2 separate regions of the Homo sapiens genome follow, and region 1 is linked to region 2. Evidence: promoter capture Hi-C in human tissues and cell types (Jung and others, 2019). All regions are on one chromosome and are shown on one strand. Each heading gives the region's core, a stretch centred on a gene start or on the middle of the fragment in contact. The rest is flanking DNA. Distances are from core to core; before and after follow the strand shown. Region 1 overlaps DDX23 (DEAD-box helicase 23). Region 2 holds the start of ADCY6 (adenylate cyclase 6).

The links. The method cuts DNA at HindIII sites, captures the fragments that hold promoters and counts their contacts. A contact is called where the count stands out against the background at its distance.
Region 1: a fragment that was not itself captured here is called in contact with the fragment with the promoter of ADCY6 in region 2 in 1 of the 25 tissues and cell types used here (pancreas).

What each region holds. Positions count from the first base shown.
Region 1 is chr12:48,833,145-48,837,252 of GRCh38, forward strand. DDX23 (DEAD-box helicase 23) reads right to left here. Exons shown (of 17, transcript NM_004818.3): 9 at 3,750-3,893; 10 at 3,425-3,650; 11 at 2,977-3,122; 12 at 1,176-1,353; 13 at 133-375. Among named protein-coding and RNA genes, the nearest start is that of CACNB3, 17 kb to the left of the region's middle. The HindIII fragment of the contact is 5,776 bases long and covers 1-4,108 here.
Region 2 is chr12:48,787,400-48,791,987 of GRCh38, forward strand. ADCY6 (adenylate cyclase 6) reads right to left here and starts at 1,690. Exons shown (of 22, transcript NM_015270.5): 1 at 1,507-1,690. ADCY6-DT (ADCY6 divergent transcript) reads left to right here and starts at 1,748. Exons shown (of 3, transcript NR_110019.1): 1 at 1,748-1,828; 2 at 2,586-2,720; 3 at 2,914-3,136. RefSeq lists an enhancer at 93-637. The HindIII fragment of the contact is 15,533 bases long and covers 1-4,588 here.

The DNA of each region.
Region 1 (4,108 bases), core at 782-3,281, 46 kb after region 2:
CAGCTAATTTTTTAAATTTTTGTAGAGACGGAGTTTCGCCATGTTGCCCAGGCTGGTCTCAAACTCCTGAGCTCAAGTGATCCACCCGCCTTGGCCTGTCCAACTTTTCCCAGCCCAGGGAAGCAGCCTTACTTGGCGGTACTTATGTTTTCCCGACTCAAAGTTGGCCAGCATCTTCTCAGGGTCCTCAGCCTCATCCGTGTCTGGCTTCTGGTTGCTGACAGGCATGTGCTCCAGGATCTTCTGGACATCTGGCTCAAAGCCCATGTCAATCATCCTATCTGCCTCATCCAGAACCACATAGGTACAGCGGCTCAGCACCAGGTAGCGGTTCTCCAGCACATCAATCAAACGCCCAGGGGTAGCAATCACAATCTGAGGAGTACAGTATAATCATTTATAGCCCAGCAGGTGCCCCTTCTTTTCTTTCCTGTGAACTATCCACCCACTTGGGTGACAGACCTCCAATGCTGAGGAACTTGGACCCCAACCTCTGGTTATGTTTAGCAGTAAAGGCTCCTGCAAACTGGCATGAAATCACTTGTTGCCTGGATTTTCTCAGGAATGAATGAGGTCTCTGAGTAAGGTGCAAGGATTAGACAGAGGAGGCAAAATCAGTAGAAACTTTTTTTTTTTTGGCAAATCATTTCAGATCCTGAAGAAGGAACTTCTTAGATGGGAGAGACTAAGGGGTACTATGAAGGGGGTTGTATAAAGACTAAATTTTTTTAAAAAATTGTAAAAAGACTAAATTTCTACAGCAGACTTCTCATAAAGAGCTCTCCTCCACTTTCCTGAGATGAAGGCAATGCACAAAGTCAAAGATTTGGTCTGGCAGAGTAAAGAGTAACTAAAAGCACAGGCTATGGATATGAGTCTCAGCTCTGCCCATTGCCAGCTGTTTGTGACTTCAGGCAGTTATTAACCTGAACCTCAGCTTGATCTATAACAAGGAAATACCACTCTCATACATTATTGTGAGAATTAATGAGCTAATATATATGATATATACTATTTGTGATATAAACCCTGGTGCATAAGTTCTCAATAAATAGCACATATATATAAACCAGCTCCTTTCTTCATACTACTGCACATATATTCCAGAAACTAGAAACAAAGCCCCAAGATAGCCTTCCCAGACAGCAGGCTGGCTGCTAGATAGAAAAACAAACCTCACAACCCATGCGCAGCCTGAAGCCCTGGTCTTCTCTGGAGATGCCACCAATGACAGCCACAGTGCGGATACCTAGCGGTTTCCCAAACTTGATGGTCTCTTCCTCAATCTGTTGAGCCAACTCACGGGTGGGAGCCAGGATGATGGCATAAGGGCCTTGGTCTGACTCTTCGATCCTGTGGTAAACAGGGTGCCCCACAGCTTCGTGAGCTTTGGTTCTTATCCAACCACAAGCCAGAGCAAGACAAAGTCACTCTTACGGGGAGCAATGGGAATGGGGAGGATGATGAGAAAAGAATGCAATGATCTCACTTAAAAATCAGAGGCCAGGGCTGGGCATGGTGGCTCATGTCTGTAATCCCAGAACTTTGGGAGGCTGAGGCAGGCGGATCACCTGAAGTCAGGAGTTTGAGACCAGCCTGGCCAACATGGTGAAACCCTGCCTCTAATAAAAATACAAAAATTAGCCAGGCGTGGTGGCCGGCGCCTGTAATACCAGCTACTCGGGAGGCTGAGGCAGAAGAATCGCTTGAACCCAGGAGACAGAGGTTGCAGTGAGCTGAGATCACGCCACTGCACTCCAGCCTGGGTGACAGAGACACTCTGTCTCCAAAAAAAATAAAAATAAAAATAAGTCCAGAGGCCAGGCAAGGTGGCACAAGCCTATAATCCGAGCACTTTCGGAGGCTGAGGTGAGTGAATCACTTGAGCCCAGGAGTTTGAGACCAGTCTAGGCAACATGGTAAAACCCTGTTTCTACAAAAAATACAAAAATTAGCTGGGCATGTTCGAACACACCTGTAATCCCAGCTACTTGGGAGGCTGAGGTAGGAGGATATGAGCCTGGGAGGCAACGGTTGCTGTAAGCCAAGATCACACCACTGCACTCCAGCCTAGACAATAGAGCGAGACTCCATCTCAAAAAATAAATAAATAAATAAATAATAAATACATAAAAATCAGAGATTCAGCCAGGTGCAGTGGTTCACGCCTGTAATCCCAGCACTTTGGGAGGCCAAGGCAGGCAGATCAGTTGAGATCGGGAGTTTGAGACCAGCCTGGCCAACATGGTGAAACCTCATCTCTACTAAAAATGTAAAAATTAAGGACAGGCACACTGGCTCACGCCTGTAATTCCAACACTTTGGGAGGCTGAGGCAGGCAGATCACTTGAGGTCAGGAGTTAGAGACCAGCCTGACCAACATTGAGACCCCGTCTCTACTAAAAATACAAAAAAATTAGCCGGGCATGGTGACGGGCACCTATAATCCCAGCTACTTGGGAGGCTGAGGGAGGAGAATCACTTGAACCTGGGAGGAGGAGGTTGCAGTGAGCCGAGATTGCGCCATTGCACTCCAGCCTGGGCAACAAGAGCGAAACTCCGTCTCAAAAAACAAAACAAAACAAAAAACCAAAAATTAGCTAGAAGTGGTGGCACACGCCTGTAATCCCCAGCTACTCAGGAGGATGAAGCAGGAGAATCACCTGAACCTGGGAGGCAAAAGTTGTAGTGAGCTGAGATCGTGCCACTGCACTCCAGCCTGGGTGACAGAGTGAGACTCTGCCTCAAAAAAATAAATAAAATAAATCAGAGACTCCAGGATAGCAAAGTTCTCCAGGTCTTTGCCAGCAACATATACTTCTTCGATATCATGATCCAATTATTCCCTAATATCCAACAAAGAATAAAGAAGAAAGCTTCTGATTATAGACGTAAAACAAAAATCAAACATTCATTTGCCACTTTCACCTTTCCTACCCAGACAAACCCACTCCAGCTGGTGCTAGCTGACCTCACCTGTCAATTTTGGGAAGTGTGGTGATCCAGACCAGCAGAGGGATGAGGAAGGCTGCTGTCTTGCCACTGCCAGTCTCAGCCACACCAATGATGTCACGATTCTGTAGCCCAATGGGAATTGCCTGACGCTGTATAGGTGTTGGTTCCTGCAGTGACCCCAAGAAAGAGTAATAGGTACAGGGAGAGTTATACCACCTGGGCAACCACTGATAGTAGTAAGCACATCTGCTAGCACAATGGAAGGATGCCAAGTACAGTTCACAGAAATAGGGACCCCAAGAAGAAACCTAATCACTAAAAGCCAACACTTCTACCAGAAAGTGACAGAAAAGGTCACATTGGTGCCCACTAGCAGCGATGGCTCCAAATAGTCAAGGAACAAAGTTCTCTATTCCCAAACTAGTGTAGGAACATGTCAGATCTCTTGGGCCAATCTATCCCTCCTTACCTTGTAGCCACACTTATCAATGACCTCCAAGATGTGTGGGGGCAGAGAAGAGTCTTTCCAGGATCGGATGGGATTGGGGATCTTGCCACCTTTGGTGGTGATGCTGTAGTCCTCACGGAAGATCCGCCAGTCCCTGTCCGTCATCTCATCTAACTTTTTCTGAGACCAATGACGATCATCCCAGCGCTGCTTGGCTTCCTTCTTACGAAGTTTGCGGAGTCTTGCCCTGGAGCAGGGTGTGAGGAGTAAGTAGAATCAGTGCCCTCCAACTCCTTTCTGTAGAGCCTCTGGGCTCTGTCCAGCCACCCTAGCCTTGATCACTCACTCCTCCTGCTCCTTTTCTTCCAGGGTTCGCCTCTTCTCCATTAGGTCTCCATAGAAACGTGACTGCTCTCGCTTCTGCTGCTTGAGGTCAATGCCTGCAATGAAGCCTCGCCCTAACAACTGCACCTGGTGCCGTTCTTTGTACCTGGGATTGAGATAGAGGAAAAGAAAAAAGAAGGAGCTGTTAACGGCAGTAGGAAGGAAGGGCAGACTACTAGTATGAAACAGTTCTTCCCAGACAGGGTCTTTCTTCCACCAGAGGGCTGGCTGACTACCAGTCTACCAATTTTCCATCCCAGCTTATCTTACTTCCTCCACCTCCGTAGTCATCAGCTCTCTAGGACTGCCTAGTGGAAAAGA
Region 2 (4,588 bases), core at 440-2,939:
GAACACTCTGACCCCCCCCAAGGGGATAGCTTCAGAGCTATGTAATTGTCCAACCAACTGCAACCATCCCACCCTGGGCTCCACTCCAGGCACTGCCCATCCCGCAGAACTTGCCGGCCTCCCAACATTTCTGGCACCCCATGCCAGACTGGTATGGCAGGAAACAGGGTAGAGCACTGTTCCAAGCCACAAAATTTCTCTATATGGTCCCCCAACCCACTTTGTCCAGCAACCCATCACTATGAGCCCTGGGAGCACAGACCACCTCCCTCCTCCCCAGAGTCAGGCTCCTAAGCCTTGTGCCTCTACCTTCTCCTCCCCTGAGTGTTGGTCCATTTGCACTCTCACAGATCTGCTGTTCTTCATACCACCGGCTCCCACAGCCACAGCCATGTCCCATTCAGCCTGGCAGGCCCAGGCTCAGTGCCTCCCAGACCTCAAGTCCCTCCCAAACCCTGATCAGGCTGAGACCAGAGTTTGGAACCAGCCAAGGCCAAGGCCCAGCCCTAAGGATGGCTCTGCCCACTGCCTTGCCAAGCCTTCCTGGCCACCTCCTGTCTATCCCATCCCCAGGGCCCATCTGCCCCTGCCCTCCTTGGCAAAAGGAGGCTCCAGGGGATTAAAAACGACTTCAGAAAGTTCATGGTAAGAGGCACTGCCCAGGCGGGGCCCAGCAGTGCCAGCACCACCCACCATACTCGGACATGGGCCTCAATTCTTCAATTCTGGGCCTTTCCAGATGTAGAGGAGCCTACCCAGGGCCTGTATCTGTCGGTCCAGTGCCCGCTGCCGCCTTCTCCCATCCCCAGTCCTCACTCTCCCTAAAGATTACAGAGGGCTCCCACATCACCCTTTACTATGCAACCCCCACCAGGTCCCTCCAGCTCACAGGGGTAATCTGGTAAGGAGAGGATATGGGCAAAGAGGCTCCCACGCCTGATTCCACCTCTAGCCTTTCAGTCGAGCCCCAGAGTCTGCTTTGAATAAAGTCAGCTCCCCTGCCCACCCTGCGGCAGGCCTTGGGGGATGTGGGGAGCCGACCCCACCCCTTTCATTCCCAAGGTTTTGGGTGAGGGGAAGGAGAGGGACTCCCGCAGACAGAGGGCATCCCTCCCTCTGCCCAGGCCGGTTCCTCTCCCCTAAATGGAATCTCCCCCAAACTCGGAGACACCCCACAGCCCCGCAGCAAAAAACTCAGGCCAGCCCCTCCCCCAGTACGTGCCAGATCCTCCTGGCCTCCGGGCCAGCCTGGAACTCGCCCCGTGGAGGGAGGCAGGCGGCGGGCGACGGGGGTGGCGAGCGCCGGACCTAGGAGTCCTCGATCCCACTGCCTCCATGACTTCCCTTTGCCAACCCCAACTCCCTCGGGCAACACTGCCGAGACGACCCGTCCAAGGCTTCGGCGCCCCCACCCACAAACTCTTGTCGAGAGCCGCTCGGGTGCGTTCCAATCCTGGCGCACCGGGAGCCCGAGCGGCCACTTCCCCTAGCCCTCAGCGCGCTCACCTGCCGGCCCGGCTCCGCGCCTGCCCTGGGCCCCCGCCCCGCCGCCCCCGCGGGCTCCGGCCGGCCGGCCGGCCGTCCCGCGGTCCTCCGAGCCCGCGCGTCCTGGCCGTCCCGCCCGCCGTCCGCCGTCCGCCGTCCGCCCGGCCCTCGCCCCCTCCCGAGCTGTCCAGCGCAGCCGCCCTCTACCCCGGATCCAGAAGTCCCCTCCCCGCTGGCTCCCGGACTCCCCGCCTTAAAGGCACAAGCTCCTTTTGTCTGGGCATCCCCCTCCCCCTCCCCAGAAGTGGGGGCCGAGTTGCCCACTCCCCTTCCTAGCAGCGGGGTAGGGGCGGAGGAGGCCAAATAATGGGACCCCTCCCTCCGCGCGCCCCCTCCTCTCCTCCGGCCGCTTCCTCCCCCAGTCCTGGGAAGACAAGCAGCTACTGTTCTGGGATCAAGACCCCGCGGGGAGGGGACCTCGCAGCCCGGTCCCCTTCCCTTCACCCCGGCCGCCTCCTCCGGCATTCCTCTCCCGCCCTCACCCCGGGGGTCCCCGAGCGCGCCCGCAAACCCACCCCTCACGGCTACATCCCCCGCCCCGCCCACCGAGGGTCGCCTTCCTTCCTGTCAGGGTCCCAGGGGTTGGGCCGGCGCCCCGCGCCCACTCTTCATCCCCAATTCCTCCCTGCCCCTGCCCCAGCCCCAGCCCCCACCTAGCCATTCCCGCCCTGCCTGTCACGGCCCTGCGCCCTCCCGCGGGAACTCAGTTTAATAATTAATTAAGCTCTCATTCCACAAGGCGCCAGGTGTGTGCGGCCTGCTTGCCCGCACACCACTTCTTTCCTCTTCCCCCCAGTCTCTGGGGCAGCGGCCCCGAGGCGAACCTCGGGGCCCAGTGGAGGGACCCAGGGAAGGGGCACTCTCCCTGCCGCCCCCACAACCCCCCGCCCTACTCTCTGGGAGCCCCTCCCCCGCACCTGCCAACTTGCAGCCTCACCCCCAGGCATCTTTTACCCAAAGGGCTGTGCTTCTCTGCTGGGGGTTGGAGGGGCTACTGGGGTGCATTGCTAAGTGCACGAACTGAGAAACTGGGTCTTTAGTTATTTCCAGCACGGAGCAGCTGCCCAAGTTACCTGGGAGATGGGAAAATCGTGTGAAAGCTGGTTAACCCTTTGAGGATTAGAGTAATGGTGGAAGCAGAAAGGAGAAGGAGTTTCACTCCAGGATGTACGTAGGTGAGTGTGACTTTAGAGGGGGTGCCATTCTGGAGCTGGGAAGAAGGCAGCCTGCCTGGCTTCCTTTTGAGGCCCCCTCTCCATTCCCTCAGTCAGACCTCTAGCTCCTCCTTCCAATTCAGCCCTTCCCCAAGCAGCCTATTCCCCACCCAAGATCCCAAGACCTAGGTATCTGAAGATGCTTCCTCCTCAGGACCAGCCCTCCCTGCAGTCCTGTCCTTCAAGACTCAAGTCTTGTCCACTCCAAATCACCACTGGGATTCCTAAGTCCAGGACAGAGCTTCAGGCAAGGAAAAGAAGAGTTGGGAAAGCCAGTTTCCAACATTTATCAGCCACGTGTACCTGCAAACTATATACCTTGGGTAAATCATCAATCTCTTGAAATGGGAATAAAACCATCTGCCTTGTCTTTCTTACAGGGTTTTCAGAATCAGATAGAGAAATGTTTGTTATAATGTTTGAAAATGGGAAAGTGGTACTTTCTCATTTCTCAGTTGTGCAGGCCTGGCCTGCAATTTGATCTTTGGGGCCTCTTTGCCTGACTTCTCACTTCAAAATTTCCTTAAAAATTGTTTTTGCTGGCCGGGCGCGGTGGCTCACGCCTGTAATCCCAGCACTTTGGGAGGCCGAGGCGGGTGGATCACAAGGTCAAGAAATCGAGACCATTCTGGCCAACATGGTGAAACCCCGTCTCTATTAAAAATTAGCTGGGCGTGGTGGCGGGCACCTGTAGTCCCAGCTACTCGAGAGGCTGAGGCAGGAGAATCGCTTGAACCCGGGAGGCGGAGGTTGCAGTGAGCCGAGATCACGCCATTGCACTCCAGCCTGGGAGACAGAGCGAGACGCCGTCTCAAAAAAAAAAAATTGTTTTTGCTATCAAAATTTCCTCTTCAAAATACCTGAATCAGGTTATCTACCACTTACGCTTAGAATAATGTGCTCATGAGCCACATGGGGAAAATGCAAAAAACAATTGAGATAAATATGCGTTAAAAAATGAAATTTTAGGCCGGGTGCGGTGGCTCATGCCTGTAATCCCAGCACTTTGGGAGGCTGAGGCGGGCGGATCACAAGGTCAGGAGATCAAGATCATCCTGGCTAACACAGTGAAACCCCATCTCTACTAAAAACACACAAAAAATTAGCTGGGCGTAGTGGGGGGCGCCTGTAGTCCCAGCTACTCGGGAGGCTGAGGCAGGAGAATGGCGTGAACCCGGGAAGCGGAGCTTGCAGTGAGCGGAGATTGCGCCACTGCAGTCCGCAGTCCGGCCTGGGCGACAGAGCGAGACTCCGTCTCAAAAAAAAAAAAAAAAATTAAATTTTAGCTGGGCATGGTGGCTCATTCCTTTAATCCCAGCACTTTGGAAGGCCAAGGCAGGCAGATCACGAGGTCAGGAGTTTGAGACCAGCCTGACCAAAATGGTGAAACCCCGTCTCTACTAAAAATACAAAAATTATTGGGGAGTGGTGGCGCGCGCCTGTAATCCCAGTTACTAGGGAGGCTGAGGCAAGGGAATCGCTTGAACCTGGGAGGCGGAAGTTGCAGTGAGCTGAGATTGCGCCACTGCACTCCAGCCTGGGCAACACAGCAAGACTCTGTCTCAAAAAAAAAAAAAAATTAGCCCAGCGTGATGATACGTGCTTATAGTCCCAGCACCTTCCAGGCTCAAGTGATTCTCCTGTGTCAGCCTCCCGAGTAGCTGGGATTACAGGCGCCCACCACCACACCTGGCTAATTTTCGTATTTGTAGTAGAGAGACGGTTTCTCCATATTGGCCAGGCTGGTCTCAAACTCTTGACCTCAGGTGATCTAACTGCCTCAGCCTCCAAAAGTGCTGGGATTACAGCCGTGAAGCCACCGTGCCTGG